Regions from separate parts of the Homo sapiens genome. Here regions 1, 3 and 4 are each linked to region 2. Evidence: promoter capture Hi-C in 16 types of primary human blood cells and fetal thymus (Javierre and others, 2016). All regions are on one chromosome and are shown on one strand. Each heading gives the region's core, a stretch centred on a gene start or on the middle of the fragment in contact. The rest is flanking DNA. Distances are from core to core; before and after follow the strand shown.

Region 1 (7,303 bases), core at 3,651-6,150, 230 kb before region 2:
TAGGCTCCGAGCTAAGCACTTTCATTTTCTAACTTGTTGAATCTTCGCAACAACCTTAATATAAGTACTGTTATTATCTGTTTTACAAATGAGCAAGTTAGGAAATAGAAGCCAAAAAAATTTTGAAATGATTTGCCACGGTCACACACTAGTATATGGCAAAGCCAGGATCTGAACCTAGGCATTCAGGCTCCAAAGCCTATGTCATTAACCACTTGACCATACCACTTCTTGTGACAGACATCTGCTTTACCATCAGATTGGTATATGCATTTATTACAATTTGCAATTATTTACTGTGTATTAGTTATTGCTAATGTCTGTGTATTAGTTATCTATTGGTACATAAAAATTACCCTAAAACATAGCAGCTTAAAATAAACATTTATCATCACAATGTTTCTGTGGGTCAGGAATACAGTAGGGCTTAGCTGGATGGTCTGGACAAGATCTTTCATGGGGTTTCAGTCAACCTTTTGGTCTGGGCTACTGTCATCTCAAGGTTCAGGTGGGGCTAAAGGATTCACATTCAAACTCACTCATGCGGCTATTGGCAAGCCTCAGTTCATTCCTCCTCAAGTGGGCCTTTCCCCAGGCTGCCTTAGTGTCCTCATAACATGGCAGCTTCCCACAGAGTACACAGCCCAAAGACAGCATGTGAGCAACTAAAACAGAAACCGCAGTCTTTTTTATAACCTAATCTCAGAAGTTACATATCACTACTTCTGCCATATGCTATTGGTCACATAGACCAACCGTGGTAAAATGTGAGAGGACTACACAAGGAGATGAATACCATGAAGTGGGGATCCCTGGGGCCCATCTTGAAGAATGGCTACCACAATTTATTTGTACATATTTTTGTGACTACCTCCTCCACTAGAATGTAAGTGTCATGAGTGGGAGAAATGATCAGTGTTGTTCACTGTTGTATTCCCTGCCACAGCACCTGCCAGGTAACAGATGACCAATAAGTACTGAGTAAATATAATGATGAAAGTGATATGAATTCCAGAGGATGAGCTCCCTATAATCCTCTCTTAATGTCAAACAAATTCCCAGTTGCCATTAATGGTACCATTTAAAGCTATATATTTCTTTCAGAGACATGGTCTCACTGTGTTGCCCAGCCTGGTCTCAAACTCCCGGCCTCAAGTAGTCCTCCCATCTCAGCCTCCCAAAGCACTGGGATTACAGGCATGAGCCCCTGTGTCCAACCCATTTAAATAATTTTTAAAAGCAGGAGAATATCATGCCCAAGAACATTTATTCATGTATATAAAATTATAGACTGTGGACTTGGAAGGAACACACAGATTAAAAGATCTGTTTTAACAGCTAATGAAGGCTATAATTTATACTAGGAAGTCTAACACAGTCTACACACCAAACTCAAGGGAATGTTGGCCTTTTGGAAGGAGAAAAGAGTAATAGTATTGGGATTTTCTTCTATTAAAATTTTAATACTAAGTCAATATTTAATGATGGTCAATTCTGGGAGGCAGGAATATGTGTATTATTCTCTGTATTTTTCTATAGCTTTAAAATTTCTCAAACAAGATAAAAAATGTTAAAAGTCTTGACCAGACCCAGTGCAGTGGCTCACACCTGTAATCCCAGCACTTGGGAGGCCAAGGCAGGCAGATCACTTGAGGTCAGGAGTTCAAGACTAGCCTGGCCAACATGGTGAAACCTCATTTCTACTAAAAATACAAAAATTATGGCCGGGTGCGGTGGCTCATGCCTGTAATCCCAGCACTTTGGGAGGCTGAGGCGGGAAGATCACGAGGTCAGGAGATCGAGACCATCCTGGCTAACATGGTGAAACCCCGTCTCTACTAAAAATACAAAAAATTAGCCAGGCGAGGTGGTGGGCGCCTGTAGTCCCAGCTACTTGGGAGCCTGAGGCAGGAGAATGGCGTGAACCCAGGGGGCGGAGCCTGCAGTGAGCCGAGATCGCGCCATAGCACTCCAGCTTGGGCGACAGCGAGACTCCGTCTCAAAAAAAAAAAAAAAAAAGAAAATTAGCCTGGCGTGGTGGTGCATGCCTGTAATCCCAGCTACTCGGGAGACTGAGACAGGAGAATCACTTTAACCTGGGAGGCTGAGGTTGCAATGAGCCGAGATCACACCACTGCACTCCAGCCTGGGTGATAGAATGAGACTCTGTCTCAAAAAAAAAAAGGTCTTGACCAATTGGAACACGTGTCTGTACTGCCTTCCTTTGCCTCTTGCTCTAATTAAGGCTGTACTATAAATTCCAGTCTCCAGATAACTCAGACCAGTACCTATTTTCTCCTGAAATTGTCCAAGCTTTTCTGGTCTGAAGTTCTACACAATCACCTTACTTGGCTGCTTGTTCCCTTTCCGTATTTTTGTAGAGACAGCCACAGCCTCCTTGTGCTGAGAAAGAAGTGCCTAAGCAGCGGCAGCCTGGCCAGCACTGGGAGACTGTGGTTACTGGCACTGGTTCTGTCACACAACCCTCTAAGGCGGGCGCAGAAGCCAGAATCCTGGGCCCTGGGGCTTGTTTCTAAAGTGCTAATGCCTCTTCCTTGAACACATAGCCAACAGTCATGCTAGACCAATGCTGGAAGGGAACATGGAAAATGTTAAAATTTGTAGATATCAGATTAACTTTTCCTTTTTATTTTGGTCTCCATGCTATTTAAAAAGTAAGCTCAGAAAATCAACCAAGCTAAGGGAGGTGGTGCATGCCTACAGTCCCACTACTCGGGAGGCAGAGGCAGAAGGATTGCTTGAGCCCAGGAATTCAAGACTAGCCTGAGCAATATAGCCTGTGAAGAAGAGGAAGAAAAGAAGAAGAAAGGAAAAAGAAGGAGGAGAAGGAGGGAGGAGGGGGAGGAGGAGAAGGAGGGAGGAGGGGGAGGAGGAAAAGAAAAAGAAGGAAAGGGGAAGAAGAAAGGAAGCAGAAAGAAGAAAGAAAAAGAAGAAGAGAAGGAGGAGGTTGGGAGAAAGGGAGAGAGAGAGAAAGAAAGAAAATCAGTCAATCCATTAACAATTCCCTTTTCAAAAGAAGGACCAATGAAAACATGGACTATTGTGAATGAAAGTGCTTTTAGCTGCTCTCTTTTTTTATTTTTATTTTTTGATACGGAGTTTTGCTCTTGTTGCCCAGGCTAGAGTGCAATGGTGCAATCTCGGCTCACCACAACCTCCGCCTCCCCGGGTTCAAGCGATTCTCCTGCCTCAGCCTCCTGAGTAGCTGGGATTACAGGCATGTGCCACCACGCCCGGCTAATTTTGTATTTTTAGTAGAGATGGGGTTTCTCCATGTTGGCCAGGCTGTTCTCGAACTCCTGACCTCAGGTGATCCACCCACCTCGGCCTCCCAAAGTGCTGGGATTACAGGCGTGAGCCACCGCACCCAGCCTTAGCTGCTCTCTTAAAATAAATCAGTGATGTCTATGGGGATGTTGCTGATAGGCAGTTTATGAAGTCAGAACAGCATCTAGGTACTTCCTGGGAAACAAGGTAACAATGTGAGAGTGAGATCACCTTCAAAAGCAGGATCAGCCTGAACAGGTATATTTTATATTGATGTTCAATACCTTCAACAATGTTCTGTTCAGACTTTGTTTCTCTCCATTAACAGTCCTGCCTGTCAGGTAATAAGTTACTATTCCTACCTGATATGGTTTGGCTGTGTCTCCATTCAAATCTCAACTGAAGTATATCTCCCAGAATTTCCACACGTTGTGGGAGGGACCTAGTGGGAGGTAATTGAATCATGGAGACCAGTCTTTGCTGTGCTATTCTCATGATGGTGAATAAGTCTCACAAGATCTGATGGGTTTATCAGGGGTTTCTGCTTTTGCTTCTTCCTCATTTTCTCTTGCTGTTGCCATGTAAGAAGTACTTTTTGCCTCCCCCCATGATTCTGAGGCCTCCCCTGCCATGTGGAACTGTAAGTCCAGTTAAACCTCTTTTTGTTCCCAGTTTTGGGTATGTCTTTATCAGCGGCATGAAAATGAACTAATACAGTAAACTGGTACCAGTAGAGTGGGATGTTGCTGAAAAGATACCCGAAAATGTGGAAGCGACTTTGGAACTGGGTAACAGGCAGAGGTTGGAACACTTTGGATGTGGGAAAGTTTGGAACCTCCTAGAAATTTGTTGAATGGCTTCAACAAAAATGCTGATAGTGATATGAACAATAGGGTCCACGCTGAGGTGGTCTCAGATGGAGATGAGGAACTTGTTGGGAACTGGAGCAAAGGTGACTCTTGTTATGTTTTAGCAAAGAGACTGGTGGCATTTTGCCCCTGCCCTAGAAATTTGTGGAACTTTGAACTTGAAAGAGATGATTTAGGGTATCTGGTGGGAGAAATTTCTAAGCAGCAAAGCATTCAAAATGTCACTTGGGTGCTGTTAAAAGCATTCCACTTTAAAAGGGAAACAGAGCATAAAATTTCAGAAAATTTGCAGCCTGCTGATGCAGCAGAAAAGAAAAGCCCATTTGCTGAGAAGAAATTCAAGCCAGCTGCGGAAATTTGCGTAAGTAGCAAGGAGCCTAATGTTAATCCCCAAGACCATGGGGAAAATGTCTCCAGGCCATGTCAGAGACCTTCACAACAGTCCCTCCCATCACAGGCCCAGAGGCCCAGGAGGAAAAAGTGGTTTCATGGGCTGGGCCCAAGGTCCCCATGCTGTGTGCAGCCTAGGGACTTGGTACACTGTGTCCCAGCTGCTCCAGCCATGGCTGAAAGAGGCCAACATAGAGCTTGGGCTGTGGCTTCAGAGGGTGGAAGCCTCAAGCCTTAGCAGCTTCCACATGGTGTTGCACCTGTGGGTGCACAGAAGTCGAGAAGTGAGGTTTGGGAACCCCCGCCTAGATTTCAGAAGATGTATGGAAATGCCTGGATGTCCAGGCAAAAGTTTGCTGCAGGGACGGGGCCCTCATGGAGAACCTCTGCTAGGGCAGTGCAGAAGGGAAATGTGGGGTGGGAGCCCCCACACAGGGTCCCTACTGGGGCACTGCCTAGTGGAGCTGTGAGAAAAGGGCCACTGTCCTCCAGACCCCAGAATGGTAGATCCATTGACAGCTTGCACCATGAGCCTGGAAAGTCGCACTCAATGCCAGCCATGAAAGCAGCTGGGAGGTAGGCCGTACCTGCAAAGCCACAGGGGTGGAGCTACCCAAGACCATGGGAACCTACCTTTTGCATCAGCCTGACCTGGATGTGAGACCTGGAGTCAAAGGAGATCATTTTGGAGCTTTAAAATTTGATGGCCCAGGCCGAGTGCAGTGGCTCACACCAGTAATCCCAGCACTTTCGGAGGCCGAGGTGGGCGGATCACCTGGGGTCAGGAGTTCGAGACCAGCCTGGCCAACATGGCGAAACCCTGTCTCTACTAAAAATACAAAAATTAGCTGGGCGTGGTGGTGGGTGCCTGTAGTCCCAGCTACTCAGGAGGCTGGGGCGGGAGAATCGCTTGAACCCAGGAGGTGGAAATTACAGTGAGCCGAGATCATGCCATTGCACTCCAGCCTGGGTGACAGGGCAAGACTCCATCTCAAAAAAAAAAAAAAAAAAAGTCAAAAGCAAGCTAGTTACTTCCTAGATACAATGATGGCGGTACAGGTATTGGGTAAGTACAGCCATTCCAAATGGGAGAAATTGGCCAAAACAAAGGCGTTACAGGGCCCATACAAGTCTGAAATCTAGTAGGGCAGTCAATTTGTTTTTTTTTTTTTTTGAGATGGAGTCTCGCTCTGTTGCCCAGGCTGGAGTGCAGTGATGTGATCTCAGCTCACTACAACCTCCACCTCCCAGGTTCAAGTGATTTTCCTGCCTCAGCTTCCAGAGTAGCTGGGACTATGGGCGCCCACCACGCCTGGCTGATTTTTGTATTTTTAGTAGAGACAGGGTTTCGCCATGTTGGCCAGGCTGGTCTCGAACTCCTGACCTCAGGTGATCCACCCACCTTGGCCTCCCAAACTGCTGGGATTACAGGTGTGAGTCACCATGCTTGGCTGCTTGCTTTTGATTTTACAGGCTCATAGGCGGAAGGGACTGCCTTGTCTCAGATGAGACTTTGGACTAGACTTTTGGGTTAATGCTGAAATTAATTAAGACTTTGGGGAACTGTTGGGAAGGCATAATTGACTTTGAAATGTGAGGACATAAGATTTGGAGGTGCCAGGGGTGGAATGATATGGTTTATCTGTGTCCCCGTTCACCTCTCAACTGAATCGTGTCTCCCAGAATTTTGATGTGTTGTGGGAAGGACCTAAGGGGAGGTAATTGAATCATGGAGGCTGGTCTTTCCCATGCTATTCTCATGATAGTGAATAAGTCTCACAAGATCTGATGGGTTTATCAGGGGTTTCTGCTTTTGCTTCTTCCTCATTTTCTCTTGTTGCCACCATGTAAGTGCCCTTTCACCTCTCGCCATGATTCTGAGGCCTCCCCAGCCATATGGAACTGTAAGTGCAATTAAACCTCTTTTTGTTCCCAGTTTCGAGTATGTCTTTATCAGCAGCGTGAAAATGAACTAATATACTACCTCAGATGTCCTGGGCTTGTAGGATAGGTAGGTGGAAAATGCAGCCCAAACTGGTATGTTCCTCAATTCCAGGTACCCCAGAAACTATGCCCAGAGAGGAGACAGTGGCACAGAACAAGCCAATGGAGGAATCGTGGACTGCTTTCCCTATTCTGGGCAGAGTTGGGTGTACCTCATGGGCAGGCCAGACTCTGCTGTACTCTGAAACCCCTGGGCAGAGGGGTTCCCAAGGCCTCTAAGAGTAGGCCCGGATTTTTCTTCAAGCACAATCAATACTTTTCTAGTAACAGGCTCTGTTAACATAAACTTTTCCAATCCCACAGGCCTGGCTCCCCATCTTGGCCCTGCAACTTCTGAAGGGCTTTGGGTCTTTTTGTAAAAGGAGGTAAACAGAATCATTGGGCTGTTGTGAGAACTAGAGGTAATGGCATATAAGTCACATAACAAGCATTTAATAAATTACACCTTATTGGTCTTGTAAAAGATATCCAGATTCTTCAAGTTTTTAAGAAAATATCCTTCATTCAATAATGTCTTTGAGCTGCTCCCCAACCAGGGTTTCCTGGTTCTAGCCCAGCAACTCAGGATTGTTTCTCAGAAGAAATAAAGACTGAGAAATCAGCTAGCTGTTTCTCGTCTCTGGGAATTTCCACTCTGGAGCCTTTTACCTTTACCCCCAATTCATTATTTCAACAATCATTTATTGCAAACTCTCTGTTCAAAACACTGCTGCAGCAGCTGGGGTTGGTGGTTCATGTCTATAATCCCAGCA
Region 2 (6,533 bases), core at 3,722-6,221:
CAGTTGACAACAATTTACTTATTTTTAGTTTCTCTACTAAAAATAAATAAATAAACCACAGGACAGGACAACATGAGATCATTCAGAAAGAATACAGGTAGAGAAAGGAATAGGGACAGGCCGGAAGCCCTGGGGCATTAGAATGTTTTGAACTCAACAAGAGAAGGAAAAGTCAAAGAGAGTGAAGAGGAGGAAAGCCATAAAACTCGAATATCCTAGAAGGTTCCTTTACATAATGTGATTTTCTAGTACACCACCACAACCACCCCCTGCCCACCACGGTAAGCCAAATTCTATAAATAAAAAAAGGGGCCCAGGCGCGGTGGCTCACCTCTGTAATCCCAGCACTTTGGAAGGACGAGGTGGGCGGATCACCTGAGGTTAGGAGTTCTAGACCAGTCTGGCCAATATGGTGAAACCCTGTCTCTACTAAAAATACAAAAAAACTAGCCAGGCGTGGTAGCGCACGCCTTGTAATCCCAGCTACTCGGGAGGCTGAGGCAGGATAATTCCTTGAACCCGGGAGGCGGAGGTTGCAGCGAGCCAAGATGGCGCCACCGCACTCCAGCCTGAACGGCAGAGCACGACTCCGTCTCAAACAAAACAAAACAAAACAAAAAATCAAAAGGAACAAGTCCAAGAGAATACACAAATAATAAAGCAGGGGCCGGAGTGGATGACGCCTGTAATCCCAGCACTTTGGGAGGCCGAGATGGGCGGATCACGAGGTCAGGAGATCGAGACCATCCTGGTGAACACGGTGAAACCCTGTCTCTACTAAAAACACACAAAAAAATTAGCCGGGCGTGTTGGCTGGCGCCTGTAGTCCCAGCTACTTGGGAGGCTGAGGCAGGAGAATGGCGTGAACCCGGGAGGCGGAGCTTGCGGTAAGCCGAGATCGCACCACTGCACTCTAGCCTGGGCAACAGAGCGAAACTCCGTCTCAAAATAATAATAATAATAATAATAATAATAATAATAATAATAATAATAATAAAGCAGGAACTCACTTTCCTCAGTTAAGTATTTTATTTATTTATTGGGGGCAAGGCGCGGTGGCTCCCGCCTGGAGTCCCAGCACTTTGGGAGGCCAAGGCGGGCGGATCACGAGGTCAGGAGATCAAGACCGCCCTGACTAACACGGTGAAACCCCGTCTCTACTAAAAAAAAAATACAAAAAATTAGCCAGGCGTGGTGGCGGGCACCTATGGTCCCAGCTACTGGGGAGGCTGAGACAGGAGAACGGCGTGAACCCAGGAGGTGTGAACTCCAGGCTGGGCAACAGAGTGAGACTCCGTCTCAAATAAATAAAATAAAATAAAATAAAATTAAATTAAATTAAAATTAAAAATAGTGCTAGGCGCAGTGGCTCACGCCTGTAATCCCAGCACTTTGGGAGGCCGAGGCGGCCAGATCACCTGAGGTCAGGAGTTCAAGACCAGCCTGGCCAACATGGAGAAACCCCTAAAAATACAAAAAATTAGCTGGGCGTGGTGGCGGGTGCCTGTAATCCCAGCTACTTGGGAGGCTGAGGCAGAAGAATTGTTTGAACCGGGGAGGCGGAGGTTGCAGTGAGCCAAGATTGCACATTGCACTCCAGCCTGGGCAACAAGGGCAAAACTCAGTCTCTAAATAAGTAAATAAATAAAAACAAAATAAAAAATAAAAATAAATAATTTATTTATTGGGGCCAGGCACAGTGGCTGACGCCTGTAATCCCAGCACTTTGGGAGGCCAAGGCGGGAGGAACACGAGGTCAAAAGACTGAGACCATCCTGGCCAATATGGTGAAACCCCATGTTTACTAAAAATACAAAAATTAGCGGGGCATGGTGGTGTGCACCTGTAGTCCCAACTAATTTGGAGGCTGAGGCAGGAGAATCGCTTGAACCCGGGAGGTCACAGTGAGCAGAGATCGTGCCATTGCACTCCAGCCTGGCGACAGAGAGAGACTCCATCTCAAAACAAACAAACAAACAAAACAGAGGCCCATAAGACTGGGTAACATCCCCATAGCCCCAGCTGTTTTTACCCAGGTTGAGGCCTAAAACCAAGAGGTGACTTCTGACTCCCAGCCTTTTCACAGTGGCTAGCAGTAGTTCTACTGTTGAGTTCAACAGTCTAAGCTAGACAACTGGGAAAACCTCAAGAAAGAACATAATTTAGACTACAGTGTTCATTTTTCACTTTTTTCCATATAGTTGGCTGACATTCACAAAGCAAGTTGAAGCAAAAGCCTTTATGGATGAGTCTTTAAGAACACCAAGAAAGATAGGCAAGAGGTGCAAAATGACAAATCAAAACCCGACTTGATTTTCAACACTTCTAAAAAACACTCCGAAGGTGGTGGACTCAGGGTGTGAATCAGGGGTGTAAATTAGATTTTTGCTTCTTAAGTCATTTTGGCTTTAGTGAATACAATTCCAGTTTAAACCTTTAAGATTTTTACTTTCGGCCGGTCGCGGTGGTTCATGCCTGTAATCCCAGCATTTTGGGAGGCCCAGGCTGGCGGATCATTTGAGCCCAGGAGATCAAGACCAGCCTGGCCAACATGGCAAAACCACCTCTCTACCAAAAATACAAAGATTGGGCCGGGCGCGGTGGCTTCCTCCTGTAATCCCAGCAGTTTGGGAGGCCGAGGCGGGCGGATACCTGAGGTTGGGAGTCCGAGACCACCCTGACCAACATGGAGAAACCCCGTCTCTACCAAAAAAAGTACAAAATTAGCCGCGTGTGGTGGCACATGCCTGTAATCCCAACTACTCGGGAGGCTATGGCAGGAGAATCGCTTGAACCCGGGAGGCGGAGGTTGCGGTGAGCTGGAGATCGCGTCATTGCACTCCAGCCTGGACAACAAAAGCGAAACTCCGTCTCAAAAAAAAAAAAAAAAAAACAAAATTGAAAGATTGGCCAGGCGTGGTGGCACGCCCCTGTAGTCTCAGCCACTAGGGAGCCTGAGGCAGGAGGATCGCTTGAACCCAGGAGGCGGAGGTTGCAGTGAGCCAAGATGGCGACATTGCACTCCAGCCTGGGCGACAGACCGAGACCCTGCCTCAAAAAACAACAATAATTTTTTTTTAAAAAAGAAGCAAGATTCGGTCTCAAAAAGATTTTTTTTTTTTCTTTTTGAGACAGGGTATCCCTCTGTTGCCCAGGCTGGAGTCCAGTGGTGCCATCTCGGCTCACTGCAACCTCCGCCTCCCGGGTTCAAGGGATTCTCCTGCCTCAGCCTCCCAAGTAGCTGGGATTACAAGCGCCCGCCACCACGCCCTGCTAATTTTTGTGTTTTTGGTAGAGACGGGGTTTCACCATGTTGCTTGGGCTGGTGTCGAACTCCTGGAATCAATTGATCCGCCCGCCTCGGCCTCCCAAAGTGCTGGGATTACAGGCGTGAGCCAACGCACCTGGTCAGAAAAAAGACTTTACTTTCTTCCATACCTGCATTCTGAAACTGGGTTAAGATCCTTATCTGACCACCCTTTCCTGTGCTACATTATTATGACTTAAACAGTTCTGCTTTTACCATAAAATCTTACAATGTAGCATAAAAATCCCCAAATGATTAATGAACTGCTGAGACCTCTGACTCGTTGGAGACAATTTTATTACGAATCATATCTCCAAACTTCCATTCAGTGCTTCAAAATAAGTACTCATTTAATTATCATGACTTCACCAGACAGTCACACTGCCCACAATGATGTTTACAAAAGCACTTGTCACTCCCTTTGGATGTAGCAATGCAGAAAAAAGAGTCTGTTTCCATACTCTTCGTGTGTTTATAACTCTGTAACAAGTGGCAGAGTTCAAGTGTCACTTGAGATGAAACAGCAAAGCACTTCAAGTTTACGTCCCACCATCTTTCATCCTAAGCGAATCCCGAATTTGCTCGGTTTCATTTCAGCAGTAATTCCCACTCAGTACCTGAGACAGGGTTCCAATTCAGCCCTGCGGGAAGAGACTGCAGGATTCTAGTAAGGGACTATAGGATTCTATTTTGGCCACTGCGAGGTTAACAGGCTCCAATATTAAGCAACTCCAGTATCGGTTACTGCAACACCAGAGCAGATCGGAAATAAATGTGCCCCCAAACGCACGCCAGCAGCCAGGAATTAGCAATAGCTAACACGAGATGCTGCAGCAGGGGTATCATTTACTTAGCACTTGTTCAGTTATGCCTAACCTCACAACAACCTTATGGTGTATGTATTATTATTTCCATTTAACACATCAGGATATTTTGGCCCAAGGCCCCAGGACTGGTCAGCAGCGGCGTTGGGATTCGAAAACATGTCCATAACCTAATAACCCTGGGTCCACGCCTCTGAAATACACTTCTGCGCAAAAAGGCACCTGAGGGTCGGGAAGTTCCGGAGGTGTCCGCATAGACGCGGGGCGCGAGTACGCCGTCTCTCCACAGAAACGCCCCTCAGGAACGGGACCCAAAGCGACAGTGACCCGGGACGCCCGGCAGCGTCTCTGCCGCCCAGGGGCCGGGGGGCGCCACTCACCTTGGAGAGCCCAGGGCGGGCCGCAACCAAGCCAGACGCCCCCACCGGCCGGTAGGCGGTTATCCTCCAAGCTGGCAGGAAGCGCGGTGCAACCACAAGAGTCGCCAGCGCCGCAGGTAGCGGCAAGCTAGAACGCACCGCCAGCACGCCCGGGGGCACCGCAGCCGGCGCCGCGACCCAGCCGCCCCTCAGCCGCGCCGCATCCGGGTCCCGGCCGCCGCACTCACCTGCCTGGCGTTCCGCCGCCGCCGCCTGCTACTATTCCAAGTGCGCAGTCAGCAGCCCAGGCCGCCGCAACCGCTCCACTCCGGCGCCCCCATCCCTGCCTCTCTCGATCACCTCCCGCCTGCCCCGCGCAGCACTACACTCGCCCCCTCCCCACTGCCATGGCCCGCTCCGCCGCAGCGCCGCACAGGCCGACAGAGCACGCGCGCGCCGCCGCCGAACCCGCGCCCGTGTGCGCGCGCGCCAGCCTCTCAGGCCTGCATCCCAGCAGCCCCCGCCCCGCCCTGCGCCGCCCTCGGGCCAATCCCGGGCCCCGCGGTGGCGGCGGCGGCGGCGGCGGCAGTTGGGCTGGCAGGGTGTGGGGAGAGGCCTCACTGCCGATTCCTCTACCGTTGCCAGCCCGGCTGCGACGCTGCTGCACGGCCTTTCCTAACTCTCTTTGCGACTCCCAGAGGACTGCGGAATAGGGAATCCCCGGCAAGTCGCCTTCAGGAGAGACCCATCACCCGCTGCGGCCTCCATAACCTCCTCCCGAGAGATTCCGCTCTTCCTAGGTTCCTTGCTGGCCTTTTCTTCCCAGCCCTTCTCCCTGTTCTGCGACATGGACTGACTCCTAAATTCTTGGACGCAGCACTTATTTTTTTCCCGATACCCGTCTCCGTCTTTCACTCCCTTTGTGAGGATAGGGCGCTAGCTCGGCTGCCTCACAGCTGGCCCTTCAGTCCCTACACTGTGAATGGTTGTTTCTAGGGAAAAGTCCAGGCTTTCAAGCCCAAGATTCTTGTTCTTTGTTCAATTTTGCAGTAACAACACCTAACATTTGTCTGCAGAGCCTTAAACTTTACCCCTTTTTGCCTACCTTGTTTCCTGTTACCTTTGACCCCAACCGCGAAAAATCACAGTCCTCTTTCTAGTGGGACACTTAAATTTTACTTACTGAAAACCAACATTTTAACTCACTCCAAAGCTAGTATATTCTAACGTAATGCTCCTATATTACCCTGGACAAATAGTTGAGTAGTCAGGGATAAAATCTAGAAGTACAACATAATAAAAAGCAAACGTGACAAATCAATTAAGTGACAAACCAATAGTTTATTTGAGAAATGATCCTAGTTTTTTTATTTTTTATTTATTTACTTATTTTGAATGAGAGTTTCGCTACTGTTGCCCAGGCTGGAGTGCAATGGCGCGATCTTGGCTCACCGCAACTCTGCGTCCCCCGGTCAAGCGATTCTCCTGCCTCAGCCTTCCTGAGGATTACAGGCATGCGCCACCACGCCTGGCTAATTTTGTATTTTTAGTAGAGACGGGGTTTCTCCACGTTGGTCAGGCTGGTCTCGAACTCCCGACCTCAGGTGATCAGCCCGCCTCGGCCTCCCAAAGGGCTGGGATTACAGACATGAGCCACCGTGCCCGGCCAATGATCCTGGTTTTAATTGACTTTCGATTTAAAGCAAGAACATTGAAAAATAAATTCCAGAAGAGGCTGTAATACCAACACTTTGGGAGGCCGAGGTGGGCAGATCACTTGAGCCCAGGAGTTCACACCTAGCCTGGGCAATATGGCGAGACTGACAAAAATGACGTGAGTGTGGTGATGTGCATCTGTTGTCCCAGCTACTTGGGAGACTGAGGTGGGAGGATAATATGAACCCAGGAAGTCGAGGGAAGTCGAGGCTGGTGTGAGTCGAGATAGCACGGTAGCACCACTGCACTCCAGCCCGGGAAATAGAGCAAGACCCTGTCTAGGAAAAAAAAAAAAAATCCAGAAGAATTAAAAAATATAAAAATTTA
Region 3 (6,911 bases), core at 3,124-5,623, 210 kb before region 2:
TCTCACATTGTGAATTCTTTAAAAATATTATTTGTCAGCCAGGTGCAGTGGCTCACACCTGTAATCCCAGCACTTTGGGAGGCTGAAGTGGGAGGATCGCTTGAGCCCAGGAGTTCAAGACCAGCCTGGGCAACATAGGGAGACCTCATCTCTTCAAAATATTTAAAAATTAGCTAAGTGTAGTGGCACATGCCTGTAGTCCCAACTACTTGGGAGGCTGAGGCGAGAGGATCACTTGAGCCTAGGGGTTCAAGGTTGCAGTGAGCTAAATTGCACCACTGCATTCCAGCATGGATGACAGAGTGAGACCCTGCCTCAAAATTTTAATAATTTGGCTGGGCATGGTAGCTCACACCTGTAATCCCAGCACTGTGGGAGGCCAAGGCAGGTGGATCACTTGAGGTCAGGAGTTCGAGACCAGCCTGACCAACATGGTGAAACCCCATCTCTACTAAAAATACAAAAATTAGCTGGGCGTGGTGGTGGGCACCTGTAATCCCAGCTACTCGGGAGGCTGAGGCAGGAGAATTGCTTGAGCCTGGGAGGCGGAGGTTGCAGTGAGCTGAGATTGCGCCACTGCACTCCAGCCTGGGTGACCAAGCAAGACTCTGTCTCAAAAAAAAAAAAAATTGATAATAATTTAAAAATATTATTTGTGGTGATTATTACTACTCATGGGCAAAGAATGGGCTTATCTAGAGTCTCCTGGTAAAATTCACTCTTGTATGTTATGTGGCAAGTTTCAAATAACAATATTATATGACTTGCTAAATTTTATATTGAGAAATTAGAGCAAGGCCACAAAAAAGCTTTGAATAACAAAACATTATGATTTACTAAGGTCATATTATGTGCCAGATACTATACTAGGCACTTTATATAATTATTTCTAACCCTTATAACAGCCTATGGGAAAGGTGGTATCATCTTCATTTGCCCCTGAGGAAATGGAAGCTCAGAGTGGTGGTGACTTGCCAAAGGGTACTGCTAGTAAAGAGTGATGCTGAGAGCTGACCTCAAAGATCATGTGCATTTTTTTTCACCACCTAAAAAATGTGAGGCATATAAGGGCAATGAAAACAGGGTTGGTTAGCATTCTCAGCTCTTGTAGTCTCCACACCACTGAATACCATGGGAGGAAAATAAAGCTGGCAGGAGGAAAGTACATATGAAACTTCACGCTGGAAGGAAATTCTCTTTCTGTTCTGAAAAGTTTCTCTTTGATAGCATTTACAGAACATAACCTGCTCAGGACTCACCTGGGAAGTCCCTAGCTATTGTTCATGCGGCTGAGGGAATCCGCAGGCAAAGAGGAGATGCTCCAAGATGAACATGCAGCAGCAACTCCCATGAGTCACTAAATCCAGCACTGAGTCATAATAGATTTGAAATTTTATCAGCTAGATATGTCCTTTTATTAACATACCACTTTGAATAGGTTACATACTCAAGATTCAGAAATCAAAATGCTATTAAAAGACACATTAAAAAGTCTTGCTTCCATCCCTGTTCCCATCTGCCATGTTCCCCCATCAAGATAACCATTTTTAGTGTCACTCTAGTGTTTCTTTATTCAGATTCAAGCGAGTACACATATTCTCTCTTACCACATAAAAGCATCTTGCTTTATTCACTTATTATATTCCGAAGATCCTTTTATATCAGAACCTAAAGAACTTTTTCATATTTTTTATAGCTGCAGAGTAAATTTCAATAGTAAATGGTGTATTTAGCTCATTCCCAACTGATGAACACTTGAGCTGTTTCTAATCTTTTGCTGTTAGAAGCAATGCTGCATGAATAGCTTTGTTTGCATGCCTCTTGGAACAGGACACATATTATATTAGTACACATTTCTGGAAGTAGGAAAGTAGGACTTCTATTCTTCTGGGTCAAAGACTAATTGTATTTGTCATCTTAATAGATTTTGCCCATTTGCCTTCCATGGTACTTTTACCATTTTGTACCCCCGTTAGCTATTTTCCCCAGGTTCTCCAGCAGAACATGTAGCCAAACTTTTGGATTTTTTGGCATTCTGCTAGGTGAAGCAATGGTATTTCAGGGTTGTTTTTGTCTTTTTCATAAGTGAGGTTGAGCATCTTAGTTTTAAGTTTCTTTTGTATTTCCTTTCTCATGATGCCTGTTCATGCCCTTTGCCCCATTTTCTTTTGGTTGTTGGTCTTTTTCTCCTTGATTTCTCATAGTCTTCACATTAGTAAGTTTAGTCCTTTGTTCATGCTGTGAGTTTGACATATTTTTTTCAGAGTTTGTCATTTATTACATGACTTTGCTAATGTGTGTGCATTTTTCTTCAATTGTGCTGTGGCTTTTTTACTTTTTTTTTTTTTTCCCAAGACAGGATCTCACTCTGTCGCCCAGGCTGGAGTGCAGTGGTGCAATTTTGGCTCACTGCAACCTCTGCCTCCTGGGTTCAAGCAATTCTCCTGCCTCAGCCTCCTGAGTAGCTGGGATTACAGGCGCCCGCCACTACGTCCAGCTAATTTTTTGTATTTTTAGTAGAGACGGGGTTTCACCATGTTGGCCAGACTGGTCTTGAACTCCTGACCTTGTGATTTGCCTGCCTCAGCTTCCCAAAGTGCTGGGATTACAGGCATGAGCCACCGTGCCTGGCCTTTTTTTGTACTTTTATGTAGTCAAATTTAATACATTTTCTTTTAGGGCTTCTGGATTAGTAGTGTTCTTCAGAGGCATGCTAATACGCTATTGTAGAAACTCTGAGTACACGTACATGTTCAGTAAGCATAGCAAGTAAAATACCAGTTTCTACCATCATCGTGGTTTATCATAGCACTGTGTGCACTGATCATGTCTTGGGACAAGTTGAGTTTACCTGCACCTGTGACTATAGCAGCTTTCTATGAAGGCTGCCACTGAGGTGACCCCTGCCCATATCTCCTGGACCCCTCTGGCTTTCTCTTTTTCCATCTAGCGCACCTCAAAGGCTTTTCTCCCATCTCTAAGTGAGGCTCCCATCTCAAGGTATGGGGAGAGAAAGAACCCCCTTTAGACTGTGCTCCTGGAGCAGATGGCCAGGCAGTAAGACCCTGGACTGGTGCCTCAAACCTGACCCCCAGACTCCTTGTGCACATACAGGCCATACTTCCTTCTCTTCTTCACTGTAATACCCAAAGCTCAACTTCTGGCTTCTTGATTAGTGTAGTCTTCTCTCCTGCTACTCCTGAGGACACTAACATTTGCAAGGGGCTCTGGGGACTCCTCCACCCTGAGATGAGCTATGGCAAGTTAACTGATCCATTTAAGTGTGTCGGGGCAGCATTTTGTTCCATATTGTTCCTTAGTGTGCAGTCCACCAGCTATACCTATTTTTTACTTGTAATCCAATAATTTTTCTCTAAACTGAAACCATTATGAAAAGGAATAGACATTATTGTACTACCTAGTAAGAAGCTGGACTAGATTTCTAAAGCGGACATGCTGTCTATCCTATATAAATCCCGTGGCAGCTGCTTTCAGTGGTCTTTTGTGCCATCACCCAGTTGGGTGAGTGTGGGAGGCAGGGGAGTCATCTGGTCAATATTGAAGGGCATTTTGTATGGAAGGGTCCCTCCTCACATTCATCTGTATGCATCCTTCTTTTTTATTTATTTATTTATTTATTTATTTATTTATTTTTGAGATGGAGTCTTTCTCTGTTGCCCAGGCTAGAGTGCAGTGGTGCGGTCTCGGCTCACTGCAAGCTCCACCTCCCAGGTTCACGCCATTCTCCTGCCTCAGCCTCCCAAGTAGCTGGGACTACAGGCACCCACCACCATGCCCGGCTAATTATTGTATTTTTAGTAGAGATGGGGTTTCACCGTATTAGCCAGGATGGTCTCGATCTCCTGACCTTGTGATCCGCCTGCCTCAGTCTCCCAAAGTGCTGGGATTACAGGCGTGAGCCACCGCGCCCGGCCTGTATGCATCCTTCTTTAAAGATTGTCCTTTTGGATTCATTTTGTTTCATAAGGCTTCATCAATTTGTATTAAGACCATAACTTTCTCTTAAAAGGTTGTTTTGTTTCATTATAGTTTTATGAACAAAGAACAAACACAGCTTCTTCAAATTTTAGGAGAGTCTGCAAGCCATGAAAGCCATGAAAAAGTGTTGGGTTTTGGAATATTAATGGAGTTTTAGAGATCTGGTATATCAATCCTTTCCTAAAGTAATAAATAGGAAAAGTTAACTTTATCTTTAAATCACAGAATTATAACTTAAAGTTTTTATGTTACCTTTACAGAAAAAGATGCTATGGACGTATGGTGCAATGGTAAAAAATTGGAGACAGCGGTAAGTTGACTATTTGATGACTCTAAGTGCCATGTGTCTCAGTTACCATTGAATTGTTGCTGCATTTCCTAATTATAGAGATCTTATAATGAATCAAGGCCCTCTTGATAAAAACAAAAAAGGGATTAAGTACTCCTGACTTCAGATTCTGAAAACCTTTGCCAGATGGTGCCTGGTACCGTGAGTTTGGAAACAACTCATGTTCTTAGCTGGCACTAGCTTCATACTCTCCCTTTCCTGTCCTGGACCAGGCTCCAGCATAGCAAGTAAAATACCTAAAAAGAGCCCCTAGTTAAAAAATTATATCCCCAGAGGTTGGTGTCCTCTTGTGTTGATCCATTTGAAGTGGTGCGTTATCACTGCTTCTCAAACTTGCATGCACAGAAATTGCCTGGAATCTTGTTAAAATGCTAATTCTAACATTTCCCTAGGTGCTGCTAATGCTACTGGTCCACAGATCACACTTTAGGAATGCTTTACACCATACACTCAAAGCAGATGGTTCTTTTCTGAAAGCGAGATTTTTGTAAAATGAGTGATACAATATCAGATGACACGAAGGTAGACGAACAGGAAAGGGCACTCTCACGAACCCCGGAGGACAAGTGGAATTTTAGACCAGCAGTGCCAATGCGAGGAGAAAGAGGCTCCCCCAGTCACTGTGGCCAGGCACACTGAAATCCCCATCTAGATAGACTCCAGTGTGTTTGACTTTTGCTATCAGGTGCTTGGATTACTATGGCTGTGGATGGGATGAATGTAGGAGTGAATTTCAAGCAGGAGTGAAACAGTAGTAGTGTGCACAGGGGAGAGAGTGGGAAACAGAAAGTGTGGGACTAGGAGCCGAAATCACTGGGTGGTAATCCCCATGTCTTATGGGGTCTGTGGGCCAAGCAGGGAGTGCTATCCCTGGGACCCACCTTTCATGCTGGCTCCAGATGTGAACATCAGGGCTAGAGATAATCGGAAGCTCTCTTCTCTGGTCACATTTTGCATGTTGTAGTTGCTTTTATCTCATTTGTATAGTATAGGTTTAAGACAGTGAGAAAAGGTGATTTTGGTAGTTGGAGGAAAGGAGGTCTGGGATTAATTCATTCAGAAGACCACCTAGAACCTACTTGGTCTGATAGCTGTTTCTGAGGAGGTGACAAAACCAGAAATCAAAAATTACAAAGATGAAGCCACACGTGGTAGCACAGGTCTGTAGTGGCTTCCTACTTGGGAGGCTGACGTGAGAGGGACCCTTGAGCCTAGGAGTTTTAGGCCAGCCTGAGCAACATAGTGAGACCCATCTCTAAAAAAATTAATCAATCAATTGAAATTTAAAAGTTACGAAGATGAATGCTTTTCTGTTTCTGAGTCCTGAAGAATTTAATTTGGGCTCACTCTAAATTGAGTGCTTGAGCTGTTCTCTGGGTTAAATCTACTGATAGAGACTTCTTTTATGCAGAGAGGCTTGGAGAGTGCTTCAGTATTTTATGGCCCCCTTTGGAAAAACTCCAGTTACCACTAACATGGATCAGATACCTACTGTGTGCCCAATGCCATACCTGGTGGTTCTTCCTGTTCTTTTTTTCCTACCCTGGAATTCTCTAGATAGGGAATCAGCACTTTTGAATTGCATTTCCTCCCATATTCAAGAAATTCTCCAGTGCACATGTAAAGAGAATGCTGTTTTATGGTATTAAGAATATGGTTGTACTGGGCGAGGTGACTCATGCATGTAATCCCAGCACTTTGGGAGGCTGAGGCGGGCAGATTGCTTGAACCTAGGAGTTAGAGACTAGTCTGGGTGACATGGCGAAACCCCTCTCTACTAAAAATACAAAAATTAATAGAGCATGGTGGCACATGCCTATAGTCCCAGCTACTCAGGAGGCTGAGGTGGAAGAATTACCTGAGCCCAGGGAGATTGAGGCTGCAGTGAGCCAAGGTTGCACCACGGCACTCCAGCCTCGGTAACAGAATGTGAGACCCTGTCTCAAAAAAAAAAAAAAAAATGCAGTTGTAACTTTGGGAGGCCAAGATGGGAGGATCATTTGAGGCCAGGAGCTCATGACCATCCTGGGCAACATGATGAGGCCCTATCTCTATAAATTTTTTTTTTTAAGTTAGCTGTGTATGGTGGTGTGTACCTGGTCCCCGCTGCTCAGGAGGCTGAGGCAGGAGGACTGCTTGAGCCCAGGAGTTCAAGGCTGCAATGAACTACAGTTGTACCCCTGTACTCCAGCCTGGGTGGCAAGAGCAAGACCCTGTCACACACATACACAAGGAATGTTGTTGTGGTTGTAAAAAGGTGAAAATAATATTCATCCACATGTCTTTGTTTTGTAGTAATTAACAGGAAACTACATGTGTTTGGAAATAGCTCTTTATAACACAGTTGCCTTCTCATTGTAACTACAACCTAGTTTGCAGGGCAGTTTGGGCAGCCCCATATCTAGGCAGCCTTCCCCAGTACTGTACGTACCCACAACAAACTCATCTTGTTGCCTGTGAGTTACAGCTTATTTTCTCCTTTTTATCTCAAAGCATCGTGCCAAAATTATATATTTGTCCAATTGCCAAGAAGCTACGTATATAGATTGTATTACCTAACCCT
Region 4 (7,301 bases), core at 1,617-4,116, 140 kb before region 2:
CCACACTTCCCCGGCAGTATGCTTCAAGGATGACACCAAATTGTACTGAGACAGCAGGAATGTGCACTTCTGACCTGCAGAAAGTTAATGATATCTGAACAGTTTGTTTATCAAACACTTCAGATCACCGAATAAATACTGACTTCTTTATTCTACAAAAAATAAACTTATGATGGCAAGGTCATTGTGTGCATTATTATTTCCTTCCTCCCTTCCTTCCTTTTTTGAGAGTCTCACTCTGTTGCCCAGGCTGGTGTGCACTGGTGTGATCTCGGCTCACTGCAATCTCCACCCACCGGGTTCAAGCTTGCCTAAAATAAAAAAGTGTAGCTAGATGTCGCTAGGTGACTAGGTTCTAGCCAACAGGATGCAAGATGAAGTGATGTGCACAAAAAATGAGTCCTGGACTTAGAAGGAAATGCTGGTCCCTCCCCTTCCCTCCCCTCCCCATTTCTGGCTCGAATGTGGATGGGGTGGCCAGCCCCTTCATACTTGCGATTCTCCTGCCTCAGCCTCCCGAGTAGCTGGGATTATAGGCATGCGCCACCATGCCTGGCTAATTTTGCATTTTTAGTAGAGACAGGGTTTTGCCATGTGGCCAGGCTGGTCTAAACTCCTGGCCTCAAGTGATCCATCCACCTTGGCCTCCCAAAGTGCTGGGAACAGGCATGAGCCACCACGCCTGGCTACTTTGTGCATAATTATTAGTGACATGGGTCAACTTTCCAATTTGTTAAACTTCAAAGTTCAAAAGCTATGATATTCTATAATTAGTTAATACTTCAAAGTTCAAAAGCTATGATATTCTATAATTAGTTAATACTTCAAAGTTCAAAAGCTATGATATTCTATAGTTAGTTAATACTTCAAAGTTCAAAAGCTATGATATTCTATAATTAGTTAATTCTTTATTCCAAGAAGTCTAAAATGTGTACATCTTACCTGATTTGCTTTTGTACGGGTAAGGCAATCTTACCAATTTAAAGACAATAGGCTGAAACAGGTATCTATGAAATCTGACTGGTATTAAACAATTGACTAATGCCCTGATTAGCATCTATTCCAATTTTTTTCTTACTTAAAAAGTGATGTACATATTTGAAAAAGGAAGGAATACTTATTTTGTTATTCCCTGAGAGGTTTAAAAACTAAGACTGAATGAATGAGAAAAGACAAGTTAAAAATAAGAAAAGGTTCTAGAACAACACAAGAAAGTAAAAAAAAGAGTGGAAAAAAATATATGAATAAGAAAACCATATTCAGAAATAAAACTAAAATTAAGAGCACAACATTATAGAGCTTATTGCCTTTGAGAAGCTCAGCAAAGAAAAGAAAAAAGAAGAAAAGAAGAAAAAGAAAAGAAAAGGAAGGAAGGAGAAAGAGAGAAAGAAAGAAAAAAGGTAGTTTTTTTTTCTGACAAGCATTAGTTTCAGCACTATGAAGTCCAGATTGGGAGGGAAAAAAAATGTCTGAGTACAGAGTCAGAAATGAGAAATCTATTAATACAATTTCCTTAGAAAACAAAGGAATAACTTTAGTTCTCATTCCTGATTTTACTCTTATATGAACTTGGTGAAGTAAGGTTCGTGTATTTCTGGAAATTACCTACTTAATAAAGAAATTGAATAAAATTGCTGTCATTATAGTATACCTTTACCTTCACTCAATAACACTAGTAATGACAGTACCACCCACAACTTTCTAGATGAAATAAATAGGTCTGCATTGAGCCCAAATATATTAAGACAATAAGTACACTTTACTGGAAAATAGCAATACATTATTAATTTCAGTTAAAAATCAAGCAGGTAGAAAACACACACAAAAAAAAAAAAAAGAAAGGAAGGAAGAAATGAAGAAATCAAGCAGGCATGGAGGGACACATAAGGGTCTTGGATAACTGAATTACTTTGTCAAATCTCAAATCATAAAAATCAAGAGTGCTGGTATCAAGAAACAGGAGAAGGCACCAAAACCATATAAATGTTATAAACGGTTCAGAAAAAAACTAAAGCAGCTATTTTTCTATTAAATATATTATGCTTGTTTATAGTTACTAAAGCACCTGGTGGGCTCAAAGTAAAATATAAAAGACTTACCTAAGATGCCAAAATAGAAACTGCCCTATCCTCCGATTACCAAGTGCTCTTTCTAATAGGAATCTAGAGAGGGCACAATCAAGAAAAGGCTCATATTTTAACACTTGCACCAGTTGTAAAAGATATTGAGAAAGTTCTTCATCACTGAAAGAAACAAAAGACACAGTGAGTAACCAAACAACCTGTGCCAGAAAAAGATCCCTTGGTATCAAACTATCAAATGTGAACTTGTTGAAACACAATGGTTCTTTTGGGCCAGGCTTGTTACATGCTTTCCTTCACTGTACCACTGTTACAATATCACAAAAAAAGCTGAAGATTTCAGATGGGGAAAAGGGAGTCAAGAGGGTCAAAGAACAGATACTAGAGATATTTTAATCAAATGAATTAGATTGTGATATGGTCTGGCTTTTGTCCCTACTCAAATCTCACCTCAAATTATAATCCCTATAATTCCCACATGTCAAAGGAGCATCCTGGTGGGAGGTGACTGAATCAATGTGGCCCTCCATGCTAGTCTCATGACAGTGAGTGAGTTCTCATGAGATCTGATGGCTTCATAAGAGGTGGTTTCCCCTGCTCTTTCCCTTTTCCTGCCACCTTGTGAAGATGGTACTTGCTTCTCCTTCGCCTTCTACCATAATTTTAAGTTTTGTGAGGCCTCCCTAGCCATGTGGAACTGTGAGTCAATTAAACATCTTTCCTTTATAAATTACCCAGTCTCAGGTAATTCTTTATAATGGTGTGAAAATGGACTACTACAGATTGTTAAAATTCATGACTGTATTTTCAGTCAGCTAAGAGTTACCAAAAATATTAGGTACTTTAATACTGATTTCTGATCATGCTAAAAAATTTGTGCTTAGTAAAACAATCATTTTTAAAATAAAAATTCCATCAGTACTTTCACAATTTATTTTCCTTTGCTGTTATTAGGGTTAAGTTGTCCCAGATAACCAATGTACAATTAAAATCTTAACTTCAAATAGTTTGAAGGATGAGAAAGTGAATACATTTATAAGTGGGAATTGATCATTGAAATAATATAACAGATAACATTGTAATTAACTGAGCTCAATTAATTAAGGTTAGTGGTTCTCTATTTTGTGTCAATCTCCAAACCATTCTACCTGTAAACACACTCCTATCAGAGGCAACTCCAGCAGTATAAGGTATGAAGCCCAAGTGCCCCAAGTGCTCCACTTACTCTCCACAGTATTGGGTAATAAATGGTTAAGGAATTAGTAGTCTAAGGCAGATATCTGGGACTGAAACCCAGGGCACTATATACCAAAACCAAAAACTCATAACCAGAAATTTCACAATAGAAAAACCACCAGAATTAGCTACACGGAATACACGGATCACTGCCATCTCCTCAGAGGGATCAATGCGTTTAAGAAAAACACTTGGCTCAGCCCAAGGAGAACCAGGTGGCCCCTCCACAACAGGTCTCCAATGCAAACTTAAGCAGATGGTGAAGCAACTGGGAATTCATTTTTTAAAACTATCTATAACACAATTTTGATTAGGTTTATTGTAAAATTCATGCCCACTATATAACCTATAAATAGTGTAAAAAATAGAAAGTATAGGAATAGGAAGCTGTTTCCTCTTCTCTCACATTTCTAATTTCACTCCCCAGAAGTAAGCACTATTGGTGAGTCTGTGTAATTACTTTTGGCTATTACACAGCTTAAAACATACACGATTTTAAAAAGAAAAAAGGATCATAGTATCCACACTATTTTGTGGGCTTTTATGTTTCAAAAACCATAAAGTACATAAGCCTCACTTTTGAACCTAGAAAGAAAATGGATAAACTTCATTGTCTGAGACAGTCATTTCTTCAGTGAATCTCATAGATTCTCACAAATGCACCATCCAAGGGAGACTGTACAAACATGTTCACTGAAGCATTATTTATAATAGGGAAATGTGGAGAAACTTAAATATTCCTTAATAGGGAATGAATTAAATAAGATATATCCCTATGACAGAATATTACACAGTAGTGAAAGGAATAAATGACATTTAAACATAATGGGAGAGACTAACCTCAAAAACCTGATGTTGAATTTTTATTTATTTATGTATTTGTATTTTATTTTTTGAGACAGGGTCTCACTCTGTCACCCAGGCTGGAGTGTAGTGGCACCATCTCAGCTCCTGCAACCTCCGCCTCCAGGGCTCAAGTGATCCTCCTACCTCAGCCGCCCAAGTAGCTGGGACCACAGGTGCGCACCTCCACGCCCAGCTAATGTCTCTGTATTTTTGGTAGAGACGGGGCTTAACCATGTTGCCAAGGCTGGTCTCAAACTCCTGGGCTCATCGATCTGCCTGCGTTTGTCTCCCAAAGTGATGGGATTATAGGTGTGAGCCACCACAGCTGGCTGAATTATTATTATTTTTTTTTGGAGACGGAGTCTCGCTCTGTCAACCAGGCTGGAGTGCAGTGGTACGATCTCTGCCCACTGCAACCTCTGCCTCCTGGGTTCAAGTGATTCTTCTGCCTCAGCCTCCTGAGTAGCTGAGATTACAGGCACCGGCCACCACGCCTGGCTAATTTTTTGTATTTTTAGTAGAGATGGGGTTTCACCATGTTGGCCAGGCTGGTCTCAAACTCCTGACCTCAAGTGATCTGCCTGCCTCAGCCTCCCAAAGTGCAGGGATTACAGGCATAAGCCACCACACCCAGCCATCTGGCCAAATTTTTAAAAAGCATGATATAAACTAATGCATATGGCAAGACACATTTGTGTAATAATAATTCCATGTCTATATTTTCATAGATATATATGAAACAGAAAAATGTGATATAGAAGCATACACACCAAATTCATGATAATGTTTGCCTCTGAGAAGGAAGAGAAGTAATCAAGACTGGATAAGGAAACTATGAGGACTTCAACTTTAACTGTAATGTATTTGCTTAAAATATATATATATATATATATATATATATATTATATATATATATATATATATATATATTTTAAACCCATGACAAAAATTAACATTTCTTAATTCTGGAGGGTGGATAGACTGTGTGAAGAAAAGAGGTAACACAGCAGGCTTGGCTGCTATCCTCTAACAAGCCTGCTTATAGGATTGGCCCATGGCTAGCATCTGGGAATTAAGATTTCAGGATTCCCACCACCCTCCCTAATTGATAAGAGTGGCTCACTGCACCTAAACTATTTGTGCAAATAATGGTTTATGTTGTATATCCACTTTACTGCTGGGAGTATAGAAATCTGGTACATGCTAGGCAGAGGGTGCTTATGTGATAGCTGCCCGTAAAAACCGTGGCCACGAAGTCTCTAACAAGCTTCCCTTGCAGACTTGTATTATCACAACTCACTCCTGATAGAAATAAAAGTGTTTGGGGTGACTTCACTGGAAAAGAACTCTTACAAGCTTATGTATGCCTGTTTTCCTCATGACTTCACCCCATGAACCTTTTTCCCTCTTTAAATTTTGCTCTGTATCCTTTTGCTGCAATAAATTATATCTGTAAGTGACTATGTGCTGAGTTCTGAGTCCTCCCAGTGAGTCATCAAACCTGAGGGTGATCTTGAGGACCTTCTGACCTAGCATGCTTTTGGTTTTTTTTTTCTAGTATAAACATTGAGTTGGGGAGCTGGCAGGAGTACATGAGCAAATGCTTTGAACTGTGAATAATTCTGAGCCCTTTTCTTTCTTATGAGACATCAAGGAGACACCCTCATCCCAAACCCACCCAAGTTATTCCTTGCCCCAAAGAAAACCACCTGCAGAAGATACCTCATCTGTCGCAGGCAGCCTACAGCATATTCTCGAACGTACTGGTCTGGATAGTTGAAATCCAGAAGCTCTAGGGCCTCCCGGGGGGGCAGTTTAGGCCAAATCTGAAGCAGCGCCTGAAGCTGTTTAAAAAATGAAACTGGTTCAGAAATAATGGGGGACAAAAGTAATCTAATTTTCCTTGACACACAGGAGCACCAAGATAGGTCAAAAGAAGGCAAAGCTCACTTTTAATTATTGATGCCTCAAAAATCCATTCCTGTTAATAGAGACTAATAAAGATTGTCTTTGTTGTTGAAACATTCTATAGATTAAGTCTGAAAAGCTATGAAGTACTTACCCCCAAATAAATTTTATGGGTGAGAGAGAAAAAAATGTTGAATTTGTAGCCTTTCTAAAGCTCAATTCCATCTGATAAAATCTTATTCCTTAGTATTTAATTTCTCTCATTGGATTTTCCTGGGTATCACCTAAGTACCACTGACATCAACGTCATGGAAGGTATATGATATGTATGCAAGATCACTGCTGTAAAACTATGGCAAATAGATGGCAGTGGTTAGAGGATTTTCTTTCAATTGATTGCTCAAAGTCATACTGGGAGAGGTGGCCTGCAAGCTTGTTGGCTATCTTGTGGATGTTAAGTTTTATTCTCCGACCAATTAAGCTTTGAGAATTCAATAAAAACCGTTTATATTTTATTATTTAATTCTACAAGTTATTCAATCTATAATTATGGCAAGCCCTCCCCCAAAAGTCAACAATATCTAAATGAGTATCTACCAGCTAAGTTAAAAGGCATTTTCTCATATCAAGCAAAAGTAAATAAAAGTTAACTAATTTTTTAAAAATTAGCTTAATTTTTTCAGTTGTTTTACATTTGAAAAATATTTTTGCGAAAACAATACTTTTGAATGATTTTTTAAAATTTAATTACTCTATTATTAGCATATATTTATATAAATTGTTAACTTTTTTCTGAGACAGTTTCACTCTTGTTGCCCAGGATGGAGTACAATAGTGCAATCTTGGCTCACTACAACCTCTCCTTCCTGGATTCAAGCCTCCTCCCAGATTCTCCTGCCTCAGCCTCCCGAGTAGCTGGGATTACAGGTGCCTGCCACTATGCCCAGCTAATTTTTTGTATTTTTTTTTTTTTTTTTTTTTTTGAGATGGGGTTTCACCATGTTGGCCAGGCTGGTCTTGAACTCCTGACGTCAGGTGATCCACCCACCTTGGCCCCAAAGTTCTGGGATTACAGGCATGAGCCACTGCACTCAGCATAAATTGTTAACTTATATATGTAATTTGACACATTAGAATTCACCTACGTGAATAAATTACATAGTTACTTAGCAAATACAGTGGAATGCCTAGTAATTTTTAAATTTTAACCTTTTTTTTTTTTTTTGTAAG

Evidence for each region. The method cuts DNA at HindIII sites, captures the fragments that hold promoters and counts their contacts. A CHiCAGO score of 5 or more calls a contact.
Region 1: a fragment that was not itself captured here is called in contact with the fragment with the promoter of PIK3CB in region 2 in 2 of 17 cell types (erythroblasts and M2 macrophages); the score reaches 5.8 in erythroblasts.
Region 3: a contact is called between a fragment that was not itself captured here and the fragment with the promoter of PIK3CB in region 2, in 1 of 17 cell types (total CD8 T cells). The highest score is 5.0, in total CD8 T cells.
Region 4: a fragment that was not itself captured here is called in contact with the fragment with the promoter of PIK3CB in region 2 in 2 of 17 cell types (neutrophils and erythroblasts); the score reaches 10.1 in neutrophils.

The regions. Positions count from the first base shown.
Region 1 is chr3:138,598,067-138,605,369 of GRCh38, forward strand. No RefSeq gene overlaps it. Among named protein-coding and RNA genes, the nearest start is that of FAIM, 7.1 kb to the right of the region's middle. The HindIII fragment of the contact is 5,178 bases long and covers 2,312-7,303 here.
Region 2 is chr3:138,829,957-138,836,489 of GRCh38, forward strand. It overlaps PIK3CB (phosphatidylinositol-4,5-bisphosphate 3-kinase catalytic subunit beta), which reads right to left and starts at 4,972. Exons shown (of 24, transcript NM_006219.3): 1 at 4,739-4,972. RefSeq lists a silencer at 4,469-5,208. The HindIII fragment of the contact is 25,969 bases long and covers 1-6,533 here.
Region 3 is chr3:138,624,848-138,631,758 of GRCh38, forward strand. FAIM (Fas apoptotic inhibitory molecule) reads left to right here. Exons shown (of 6, transcript NM_001033031.2): 5 at 4,260-4,309. Among named protein-coding and RNA genes, the nearest start is that of FAIM, 20 kb to the left of the region's middle. The HindIII fragment of the contact is 7,132 bases long and covers 808-6,911 here.
Region 4 is chr3:138,688,901-138,696,201 of GRCh38, forward strand. PIK3CB (phosphatidylinositol-4,5-bisphosphate 3-kinase catalytic subunit beta) reads right to left here. Exons shown (of 24, transcript NM_006219.3): 14 at 5,886-6,007; 15 at 2,100-2,243; 16 at 1-74. Among named protein-coding and RNA genes, the nearest start is that of FAIM, 84 kb to the left of the region's middle. The HindIII fragment of the contact is 5,124 bases long and covers 305-5,428 here.